4 separate regions of the Homo sapiens genome follow, and regions 2, 3 and 4 are each linked to region 1. The links are contacts of gene promoters, found by promoter capture Hi-C in human tissues and cell types (Jung and others, 2019). All regions are on one chromosome and are shown on one strand. The core of a region is centred on a gene start or on the middle of the fragment in contact, and the rest is flanking DNA. Distances in the headings are between cores, read along the strand shown. Region 1 holds the start of IGFBP2 (insulin like growth factor binding protein 2). Region 2 overlaps DIRC3 (disrupted in renal carcinoma 3). Region 3 overlaps DIRC3 (disrupted in renal carcinoma 3). Region 4 has its middle 60 kb from the start of DIRC3-AS1.

Region 1 (2,859 bases), core at 360-2,859:
ATTTTTTGTATTTTTAGTAGAGATGGGATTTCACCATGTTGGCCACGGTTGGCCAGGCTGGTCTTGAACTCCTGATCTCAGGTGATCCACCTGCCTCGGCCTCCCAAAGTGCTGGAATTACAGGTGTGAGCCACCGCGCCCGGCCCCATTTCTGTGTTTTTGCTTCAGGTGGTCCCTCTGCCTGTGCCCTTGCTAACCGCCCATTTCCTCTGGTAGAATTACAAGCTTCAATTTCAGCTCCGACTCACCCAAGAAACTCCCCTTTCCTCAACCACCACATCACCTCTCTACCAAAATATTTCTTTTCTTCAAAGCCTCTGATAAACATTTATTTATTTATTTTTTATCTTACCAAAGTCTTTCCCGATAACTCTTCCCAGCTTGGCGTCTTAAGACCAGGTACTTGCCTTCCTGGAGGCATCTAGGTCACCTTCAGAGCCAGGTGGCCATTGGGTTAACTAGCTGTTGAACTGAATCAAACAGGCTCTGAGCCTTGAAGTCAGAAAGAGCCAGAGTGGAGGGGTCTGGGGGGAAGAGGGGCGCTGAGGTATAGGGAGATGAAACCTGCGGTGGAGGCAGCTTAATGGTCCACCTGTCACCCAAGGAATCTCTCTGACAGGGGTCTTTGTTAGGGTCACACCCCAGGAGATGGTTGATTATGGCTGAGTCCAGCCTGGAATGATGGGGGTTGGGGGCAGCTTGGGTAGATGACTCAGTAAATCAAACAGAACAATGAAAGGAGGTCATGCTTGTCCATCTGCATTATTGAAGACAGCCATAAATGGCCTTACCCCAGAGCGGGTCTGTCACACCTGGAGAGCTGATCTGACCTCTCCAAGACCCCTGCAACTGAGTGTTCTGGGATCTGTCCTGCAACAAGTGCCTCGAGATTTGTAGGTGGGGGCCCAGGGTGCTAAGGGATTATTTTAGCGGGCGGAGAAGGGAGGGGGTCTGCAGACGAAGGGGGCAGGTTTTGCGGGGCACTTAGGGTTCTCATAGGTTGTAGTCACGAGCTCCCAGGTTTGGAAAACTGCAATAGTCACTAAGACCATTCGGGGCTGTTTGGGTCTAGCTTGGTCTAGACGGGTCTGAAACTCCGCAGGACCCACCCAACAAGAAGTCATTGTTCCAAGCCACGTGTCAGTGGTGGGTGATACCCCAGGATGGAAGGAGTTGGTATGAGCCGACTGAAATCTACTTGAAGGTCAAAACGGAGCCTTATGTCTTTTGTGTTCCCCAGCGGTTAGCCCAGTGCCGGCCACAGGGGAAGCGCGCAAACGAAGTCCTCGCGAACTGAACTGAGAGCAGACAAAAGCACGCGCTCTTCTCCACCGCCACGCCGGTCCTACCCAAACCCGCGAGTTATCCGTATTCTCCTTCAGGAGTCATAGTCAGGCCAGAAGAGTGCGGAGGGACGGGGCCCGGGAAGAGCAGGGAACCCCCAGAGCCCGCAGCCAACGCGGAGGTGGGCGAGCGGGCGTGCGCGCACTCACTTGCCGGCGCGAGGGAGTGTCGGGGGGGAAGGGAGTGGTCTCCAAAAGGGGGAGGGGAGAAGGCAGGGGGCGGGGAGAAGCCGGCCCTTTAGGACCCGGCTGCGGCGGCGAGGGAGGAGGAAGAAGCGGAGGAGGCGGCTCCCGCGCTCGCAGGGCCGTGCCACCTGCCCGCCCGCCCGCTCGCTCGCTCGCCCGCCGCGCCGCGCTGCCGACCGCCAGCATGCTGCCGAGAGTGGGCTGCCCCGCGCTGCCGCTGCCGCCGCCGCCGCTGCTGCCGCTGCTGCTGCTGCTACTGGGCGCGAGTGGCGGCGGCGGCGGGGCGCGCGCGGAGGTGCTGTTCCGCTGCCCGCCCTGCACACCCGAGCGCCTGGCCGCCTGCGGGCCCCCGCCGGTTGCGCCGCCCGCCGCGGTGGCCGCAGTGGCCGGAGGCGCCCGCATGCCATGCGCGGAGCTCGTCCGGGAGCCGGGCTGCGGCTGCTGCTCGGTGTGCGCCCGGCTGGAGGGCGAGGCGTGCGGCGTCTACACCCCGCGCTGCGGCCAGGGGCTGCGCTGCTATCCCCACCCGGGCTCCGAGCTGCCCCTGCAGGCGCTGGTCATGGGCGAGGGCACTTGTGAGAAGCGCCGGGACGCCGAGTATGGCGCCAGCCCGGAGCAGGTTGCAGGTAACGCGGTCTGGAACAAGTAGTTGGGAGAAACTTGGAGGGCAGCGGAGAAGCCCGACGGGCGGCTGGACCTTACGGACGGTTTTAGGGGCGGCAGAGCCGAGACCTTGGACCAAATCAAGGGGGACTGTTGCTAGCGGGACGCGGAAGTCAGGCCCGGGGAGGGGAACTGGAGTTAGAGCAAGTGGAAGAGCCCTGGCGACTCATTTGGTGGGGATGAATGGGGAGAGGAAAGGCATCCCTGCTGCCATAGTTTTACCCGCGTGGAACGGACCCAGACTTCTATTCTGGAGGAGGGATTTGCTGAGAAGGGGGCCGGTGGTCAGATCCATGGGAGTAGGAACTCGAATCTTATTTGGGGCACTGCTTGAGGACCCAAGGGTCCTGGTGGGATCGCTGCTGGGAGGCGGAGGCTGCGGGGTGCCAGTGACACCAGGAACCTTGGAAGAGGAGAGGGAGCTAGGAGGAGGCACCGGCGTCCCAAGGGGCCCTTCCTTCTACTGGGGTTGTGAGTTGGAAAGAAAGGACTTGGTACTTTGTAGGATGAGTCGCTTAGGAGAAAAATGAAAACCACCACTACTATTTCTCCATAGGGAACGAGCAGGGCTCTTGCTACCACGTTGAATGGAAAAATAAAAGGGAGGCATTTGGTAGGCGAGGGGTCTCCTAGCAGCTGAATCAATGTAACTTAAGCCCGATCGCCG
Region 2 (2,859 bases), core at 130-2,629, 920 kb after region 1:
GATACAGGCTGAATATCCCTTGTCTCAAATGCTCCAGATCAGAAGTGTTTCAGGCTTTAGATTCTTTCAGATTTAGGAATATCTGCATATACATAATATGCAAAGATAGGACCCAAGTATAAATACAAAATTTACTTAGGTTTTATATACACCCTATACACATAGCATGAAGGCAATGTCAAACAATGTTTTTAATAATTTTGTGCATGAAAAAAAGTTTGTGTTAAAGCCCTTATGTGTGGAATTTTCTACTTATGGTACCGTACTGGCACTCAAAAATTTTGAATTTTGGAGCATTTTGGATTTTAGATTTTCAGATTGGGAATGCCCAACCTCCAATAACATTCTACTATTCCTGTAGTCTTGTGAGATGGAGAGATTGTAAGGAAGGGAAGAGATGGGCAGGAAGAACATAGGGACAGAGGTGGGGCTTCAGAATAAATAGAGTAATTGACAGACAGCACAAAGAACACTTGAAAAAGAGAGACCAAAAGAGCATCCAAAGGATAAAATAGTTCAGAATCAGAGAAATAGTTTGTGTTAGTTGAACTTGCATCTAGATAAGACCAGAGCCAACCTCAAAGAGAGCCCAGTGCTGGCAGAAGAAGAGAGAGTAGAAAGAGAAGACAGGGCTGCTTGTCTGTCCTCCCACCTGCTCTGGGCCCCAGAACTCCTCCCATCTCTCTGCAAGGCAGGCAGGCAGGCAGGCTGAGACTCCGGCTAGTTGTGGAGGAAGGATCTACCCAAGTCTCGTGGCTTTCTAAGAAGACAAGCTTTGATCTATAAAAAGTTAAGTACTATGATTTGAATGAGCATGCGCCAAGCCTTCTGAATCAGTGACTAGAAAGAGCTTGCATTTAATGTAAATTTAGAATAACAAAGCAGGGTGGAATGCTGGGTGGGGTGGGGACAGGCAGAGAGAGAATGAATATAAATTATCTCTGGAGGTAGGAGTTGATTGTGGGAAAGCTGAGACTCTAAGTTCAGAGGGCAGGAAGGACGAGGAGACAGAAACTCCCAAGGGTGCAGAGTGGCCTCCTGATGTCCGTGGGCTGGACCGTCAGTGATCCTGCCTGCCCCAGGCCTGGCAGGACTGGCTATGACTTGCTGCTGGAGGGAAGCTTGGTAGGATTTATGAGATGAGCTAGTGAGATGTTCTTGGCAAGCCGAAACTATAAATGTACAATACTTTATCTCCTGCAGGAATGTTTTATGAAAAGGAAAGATGGGAAATGTCTACATAAAATAGAGCTCCAGCCACTGGTCAAGGAGAGTGGCCTCTCTCTGGAGCCACATCAAAGGCACAGCTCTGTCTGCACCCTGTGGCCTCTGCAGAGCCTTCTCTGGGAGCTCAGAAGTTTACTGAGAGCCAAGCAGAGAAGGGAGCACACCCACTGCCAGTGCTCTTCTAGGATTGTCAAGAGGAAGAGGAGCAGGGTCTGCTGGGGAAACTGCTGTTGCCCCTTCCAGCTCCCTGGAAACTTCTTCACCATCCAGAGTGCTTCAGTGGGGCTGAAGCCTGATAGAGCTTTGTAGTAGGAGCTCTAAACAAGAAGTCAGGCAATTGACCTAGAGTCTGTAACTAGATAGCCACAGGGCTTGGAGAATGTCACTTTCCTCCCCAAGTTCATTTTCTTAGAAAATGAGACAATTAAAGATGAATGAATGGTATTCTAACAGTCTTCTCCAGGAACCATGAAAAGGCAGAACTGGCTTTTGAATTTCAAGGGAAGAAAAAGTAATCTCTTGAGCAGGAGGATAATATTTAGAATTAGATGCAAGTCCCATCCCTACTAAGTTACCCCTAACTGCCTACACTCCAGTGAATAAGACCAGCCAAGATGAAATAAGAAACATAAGCAAAACACTTTGGGGCTGATAGAGGAGGTTTGTTTCACGTGAACTTCAATGTCATCTTCTTGGAGTCTCTGAGAAGCTGCAACCTAATCTTAACTTTCCTGAAGATGCTGCAACTTCATCCCAGGCATTTTGGTTTTTCTTTCTGCTTCTTCCTTGGGGACACTTCACTGAAAATAAAGTGCCCACAGCAGGGCTGATGAGCTCATGCAGAGACTTTGCGTAAATTAGAAAAAAGGTAACCCCATGCCAGGGCAAACAGCTTCGGCAGTGTTGTGCAGAACGGATTTCAGCCCTCATTTGATTTATTTAGCTAGATGCTCCCATACAACCTGCACGAACTACACATCTGTAGCTGAAGTGCAAGGGGGCATAGGGTAGTTGCTCAAAATCTACATGTCAATAATAATAGTGCGTTACTACATGCCATACATCAGTTTTCCGGGGAAGCAGACTCAGAGTTGAACATGTGAATTGACAGGAACACTCCCAACCTCAACACCTACAGGAGAGGAAAAGAAGCAACACTGAACAGAGGGAGAAGCTGAACCACAATGCAGCTGCAGCAAAGACCTCAACCCACCCTGTAGGGAGCTCTACAAGCGAGATGGTCCTTCTGAGTTGTTTAGAATTTGATAAGGCTGGGCTTTTATACGTCCTGTGTAGACCAGTTGCAGATACGGACCGTAGTTAATTCTTACCATTTTATGTTGCCTTGGCATACATTTTGAATATAGGTTTGACTTTCTCATACCAGCAACAGGGCTTTGTCACCCTTGACTCGGTTTCTACTTCTCCGCCTCCTCTCAGTTCATTCTTCAGTGTAATCGAACCAGATATCTGCCTTATACGACTGCCTCCTGGTGACCACTGCCCCATAGGACAGCTAGATACAACCTACTTGACTCACCCCCATATTGCATATGGAATGTGCAGATATGCCACAGTGACCTTCTCTCAGTCACAGTGTGAATCTACAGAACTCATGCCTGCTTGCTATAA
Region 3 (2,859 bases), core at 150-2,649, 730 kb after region 1:
AGGGAGCAGAACATAGGGAAAATAAGAGGAGAGAATTCCCTTAGAGGTAAAGAAACTGATGGCCTGTTACTTTTCACAATATTTGCAAAGGAGAAAGGCAAATTCACAATGGGGCTAAAGAACCGTCTCAAGAGAGACCTTATTAGAACTGTAGGAGGACTGGGATGGTCCCAACCGAAGTCTGCTGGAAGGAAAGGAGACCATTCTCCCAGGGGCGGGCAGAACTCACCCCGAATGACTGCGAGTTCCTTTTATCACTACCCCACCAACTCTGATTCAGTCTTTTTTGCATCTTGTTTCATTAGGGTTGGAACCTTGATACCTATGTGCAGCCTTGAAACCACTGTGGTCTATGCCTGTATCCAGGCCAACAAGGACATGACCATGGCAGTGGAGAGGCATCCATCAGTCTGCTTTAGGGCAGTTTTTAACAAAGGCACCTGCAGAAGGAACTGAAACAATACTCACCCATAATTGGGCAGCTCAGAAGCTCTTGTTCCCTCTCAGCCCTGTATTTGGAAGCAGGACTGTGCACTTTGGACTGTGTCCCGGCAGTTCTTGGACCTCAAAAGAGTAACACTAGTCCTCCTGCTAATGAGGACTCGATCAGCTAATTGCAAATGAAAAGATGAGACTGCATTCATAAGGGGATGAAGTGGTTCCTCCTGGTCATTCCAGGACTTGCTGAGTCTGTCTGCAATAGGTACACTTCGTTGACTAAAACCTTTCTAGGGTACCAGGTGTAGCCATGGCTTATTGGAAAGTATGACCCATGCAGAGAAAAACAAAACAGGAGATGGGCAGAGGACAGGAGATGAGTAATTGCACCTGTCAGAAAATGAGGATAATGGTTAAGGATACTAGCATGGAAGCTCTGAGTTTTATGGAGAAAAACACCAGGGCAAATACGAGGAATTATTTGTCCTCAATGTCCCCTGGAGAAGGTGGAGTTGATCATTGGGGCCTTGGTGGCCTGTATGACCTTCCAGCCAACAATATTTAAAGTGCCTGCTTACACTCAGTGGTTAGCACAGGCATTACACCACCCCATCCCTGCTGCCCACCCTGAAGATACAGGCAGCTCTGATTTTGTGACATGCTATTTTTAAAACAACCAAATCATTTCTACATTGCCCCCTTCACAGCCTAGAGGAAGGAACTGGTTGCCTCACCAATCTTTGGCACCAAAGTGCTTCACTGCGGATGTCTTTTTTTCTGCTGTCATACCGTCCTGATTAAGATTAATTGTCCCAGTCGAAGTGACTCACTTAGAAAGGATGGGAAGGGTGGAGGGAAGAGGGCAGTTTGCTTCTTTTTTTTTTTTTTTTTGCCTACTTCAATGTTTGTTCTGAAAGATCCAAAAGAATACAGGAGTGTAGCAAAGGAATTTAAAGTGTGGAACATGTAATAAAGGAGATCAAGTGAAAAAGCTATTATGGGCTCCATGTTTATCTTCAGCTCAGTGACTTTCAGAGGAGCATGCACTTGGCTGGGGAGCCTGGAGGGTGTGACTGCTCCCTGCCAGTTGGAGGGCCTTGACCTGAACTCTCAAAAATTCAGCTGACCTCGTCCAGCCCCAGCTACTCTAAAAACAAGGCTACAACATCTCCCCTCACTGACACAGATACACCCCTATGTATATATTAAAACCTCAAAAGTTCATTTTGGGTGCAGAAATCATATACAACCAAGGGAGCAACTGAGTAAGAAAAAGAAAATATATAACGACTAAACTAAAAGCTGTACCAAAGAGGAAAGAGATATTATTTATAGAACAGCTTTCACTTGCCAGGCATTAGTGCAAAAGTTGATTCTTTCTGAGATACTTCTCCAGAACTCAGATTTGCACATCCTCTCTGAGTCTATCCCTCCAGCTCTGAGAGGCTCCCACTCCCTGGCAAGCACCTCAGACTCCTTTGTTGATGGAGTGGGCCTGGCTGAAGCAACTCTGGCTATTTTGGGGATAGTTATAGAATACTTATAGAGGCCTTATTCAAAAACTCATGACCACTACTCTCATTTCAAATTAAAAACGTCTATCCTCTATGCTTTTTTTCCCCACCTTATTACCTTAACAAAAAGAAGAAAGGTTTGGCAAGGAAAGAAGTGTATGGCTTTGCTGATTCTGTGCATTCAATAGAAATCAAATTGTCATGACTTGTGAGGAAGAGAATTGGGCAGGGTGTCAGTAGACTGAAGCACACAACATCCAGCCCAGAACAGGCCACATTTGGTAGCCATTGGCTAATGAATGAATGGATGAATGAGTGAACTTAGGTATGAATCCCAGCCCATCAACTAACCAGTCGTGTGCCCTTAGATAAACTACTTCTATTTTCTGGACCTCAGAGATTATCTAGTTCAACAGAGGAAACCAGCCTTAGCATCTAGCTCAGATACTCCTCTTACTGTCCCATCAGCCTGGAGTCTGTATATTCCTGGGGGGCTGTCTTGACATTTCCTTTTTCTGAAAAGACCATTTGAAACCATTCCTGTTCTACATCTACATCTTGGGCTGGATGAACCTTGAACATGCATCTCTCAATTCCAACTTGAGCCCACCGAACAGCTTAACTGAAATTTTCTCTGGGTTCCAGTGCTCCAAGTCCAGAGGCTTCCATATCTGCTCTTGCCAAATACAAGTGGTTGGCAGATAACCCTGCAGTAACTCATCACCCCAACAGTAACTCATCTGTATTCACTCCACCCCAGCTCTACACAGACAAGTCACCACAAATGGATTGATGGCAATTTGAATTCATTGCCTACATGGGAAATTTCTTTGAGGGGAGTATCTGGCTACATCCTTAAGTTACAGATAAGATACTTATTCTCAAACAAGTAGCCAAGGAATATTAT
Region 4 (2,859 bases), core at 254-2,753, 590 kb after region 1:
TCGGATTATTTAATTGTTGTATTATTACTCAATTTTGTATCCATTTTTGCTTCATCTCTTTCCTTTGTCCTAATCCTTTGGAGGGAATAGCAACAGCAATGGTGAGGAGAAAGAGCCCAAGAAAGGTAGACTTGAATTCTGCTCTTAATTCATTCACTCTGTGATCACTGACTTCTCTCTTTACTTCTCTTATCTCAGCGAATTTATATGTAATATTAGGAGAATAGAAATGCAAGGGACCCTAGGAATAAAATAATTACTTATTGAAAATAAATAGTCAAAGACGACTATTATCCAGGTGTTAGAGATGGAAAGGTAAATCAGATTTGGTCCCTGACCCTTAGGGGCCAGTCTAGCAGGAAAACAATCTTGGAGCCTAGAGCTTTTTCCTTGTACCCAGCACATGCCTTAAACTTCGTGAGTGCTGGAGAACCAGATGTTAATTTGGGTGTGGGATTTTGAGCTAGTTCTTTTACCATAATTGCTATTTCCAAGTGGAGCTGATCGTCTTTCTACTTTCTCTTTCTAGGGGAGAAAGACATATTCTAGTATAGATCCTAGGTATTCCCATCTGACCTATAAATTGACTTTGTGATACAGCAGAAAAGGCATAAATTAAAATATTATCTTCTGTTACAAATTCCATAGTTTTGGATAAGTCATGTCCCTTTTTGTGCCTCATTTTATCCCACTGATAATAAGTGGTTTGAATTAGATGAGTTCTGGGGTCCCTCCTACTTTGAACATTCTTTGAGTTGAAGATCATGGCCACATCACTCAGCCCTGCTACTGGTGCCCAGGCTCTGGCCTTAGGAGTATGTGTCTAAGCTATTTGGTTGTCTCTTTTTCTGCCCCTTTCTCCCTTCAATCCATCTCTAATATCTGTACACCAGATCCACTGCCTTGGGCCTACTATATGTATTAGGTTGGTGCAAAAGTAATTGCGATTTTTGTCACTAAAAGTAACCGCAAAAACCGCAGTTACTTTTGCATCAACGTAATACTTCTGCTTCTCAGTTTCTCAGTTCCTTTTTTCTGTCTAGTGCTTTTCTTCTTGAAATTAGAATCGTTCTCTCCCTAGATTTTACCAACCCCCCTGATTTGGCAGAGGACTCTCAGCTTGAACCATATCTTGCTCCTGTGAACCTGTTTTCTTCAAGGCTTTGTAGTCTCTATTTTATAAGCAACACCTATGGACTTCTGAAAAAACGACTTGAGAATGCTGTTTTTTATGTTTTACACTCAGCTCCCTATAAATTACCATGCCTTTGTATTTTGATCATTTCTATTACTGTTCAAGGTTACATAACCTCATTCTATGCTACAGACTGAATGTGTTTTTGAAATAAAAGGCAGGGGAAAACTGTCATTAGAGGTAGTAAAATATAAAGCTTTTTTATTTCTTTCACAGTCTCCCTTGACTTGTCATGGTCGTGTTGTTTTTCAATTTGCTATTTCATGTTCTAAATAAAGAAAAATTGAAATGATAAATTACTAGCATAGATTTACCATTCATCTTGATATTGTGCAATGACACTTTTAAATGCAAACTAAGAGTATTTCATTCCTATGAGATTACCGAAATCACACAATTTATACTTCATAGCTTGTACACGCATATATATTTTGCTCTTATCAGAACACTGTAAACACTGCACGAAACCAGTTCAAGTATTTGTACTTTTCTTCTTAATAATATGCACATTCTATCAACACTCTCTACCTTTGACTTACTGATGAGTAAGAGGACTGAAAAGAAAAGGCACTATGGTTTGCCCTATCTTTCTCTTTCCTTCTATGGTATCATTTTCAGTGCAAGTGGTTGACTAATAGAGGAAGTAACATGAGTAATAAAGGATATGACAGAGTCCCTTGCTAATTCTTGTTTCTTAGAATGTCCTTGCCCTCTTTCTGGCTTGAATGGAAAATGTGGCCTCCTGGGACTGTCAGTGGTGTGGTCCCCACATCCTTAGTTGTACACATAACATGCTTACCGTGTGCTTGCTTTGAGTCCCTTCTGAGCTCCCATGCAATGTAGACTCATCGGAATCCCGTGCTCATGGGATTTTATGAACACTATATGCAAATAGGACAGCAAGAAATGGCAGTAAACGCTTTTATTGTTGCTATCTCCTCTGCTCCTGCACATGCTCCATGGTATCGTTGGACTTCACTTACAAAACACAGATACAAAGACAAAATTACTAAGAATTACCAAGAATTTTAATTTCAAGATGGCAACAGAGTATTAAACCAAAGATGAAGTCGTTCTGAGTGTGGGGTTTGCGAGATGGCACAGGTGGCACTCCCAGGAGCTCGTCTTGGCCAGGTCGCACCCTTGAGTCCATTGGAACCTGAATCTCACCCTGCTCTGCTATGCTATACTGACTCCAGCTGAATTCAAGGAGTTACAGTTTGAAACTCTCCAGACTCCAGTGGCCATCCCACTTGTGGTGAGTAGCTTTAAATAAAATATGCTCACAAATTATTTAATATACTTTCCTTTAAAAAATGGAGCTTAATTCCTTTCAAGTGTGGACTATTTTTAGTGACTTACCTCTAAAAAATATTATATGGCAAAAGTGATGAAGTATGATTTACAACAATTGATCCTGGAAGATACTGCATCTTCCATCTTGCTGTCTCTCCTAGATCACTTGCTCTGAGGGAGGACATCTGCTGTATCATGAGGACGCAAAACCATCCCATGGAGGGTGCTACATGCAGAGCAGCTGAGGCCTCCTGCTAGTTGTCAGTGAGGAACCGAGGCTTCTTGCCAATGGCCATGTGAGTGAGCCATCTTGCAAACAGATCCCCTAACCCCAGTTAAGCCCTTCAGGCAAACTGCAACGTTGTCAA

Evidence for each region. The method cuts DNA at HindIII sites, captures the fragments that hold promoters and counts their contacts. A contact is called where the count stands out against the background at its distance.
Region 2: a contact is called between a fragment that was not itself captured here and the fragment with the promoter of IGFBP2 in region 1, in 3 of the 25 tissues and cell types used here (adrenal gland, heart right ventricle and mesenchymal stem cells).
Region 3: a fragment that was not itself captured here is called in contact with the fragment with the promoter of IGFBP2 in region 1 in 2 of the 25 tissues and cell types used here (adrenal gland and aorta).
Region 4: a contact is called between a fragment that was not itself captured here and the fragment with the promoter of IGFBP2 in region 1, in 2 of the 25 tissues and cell types used here (hippocampus and neural progenitor cells).

What each region holds. Positions count from the first base shown.
Region 1 is chr2:216,631,811-216,634,669 of GRCh38, forward strand. IGFBP2 (insulin like growth factor binding protein 2) reads left to right here and starts at 1,610. Exons shown (of 4, transcript NM_000597.3): 1 at 1,610-2,155. The coding sequence starts at 1,714. The HindIII fragment of the contact is 9,313 bases long and covers 1-2,859 here.
Region 2 is chr2:217,554,502-217,557,360 of GRCh38, forward strand. The region is part of intron 2 of DIRC3 (disrupted in renal carcinoma 3); the gene reads right to left. Among named protein-coding and RNA genes, the nearest start is that of DIRC3, 230 kb to the right of the region's middle. RefSeq lists an enhancer at 572-1,172. The HindIII fragment of the contact is 3,683 bases long and covers 1-2,859 here.
Region 3 is chr2:217,359,812-217,362,670 of GRCh38, forward strand. All of the region lies in intron 8 of DIRC3 (disrupted in renal carcinoma 3), which reads right to left. Among named protein-coding and RNA genes, the nearest start is that of DIRC3-AS1, 79 kb to the left of the region's middle. The HindIII fragment of the contact is 5,085 bases long and covers 1-2,859 here.
Region 4 is chr2:217,221,742-217,224,600 of GRCh38, forward strand. No RefSeq gene overlaps it. Among named protein-coding and RNA genes, the nearest start is that of DIRC3-AS1, 60 kb to the right of the region's middle. RefSeq lists an enhancer at 1,622-2,821. The HindIII fragment of the contact is 4,414 bases long and covers 1-2,859 here.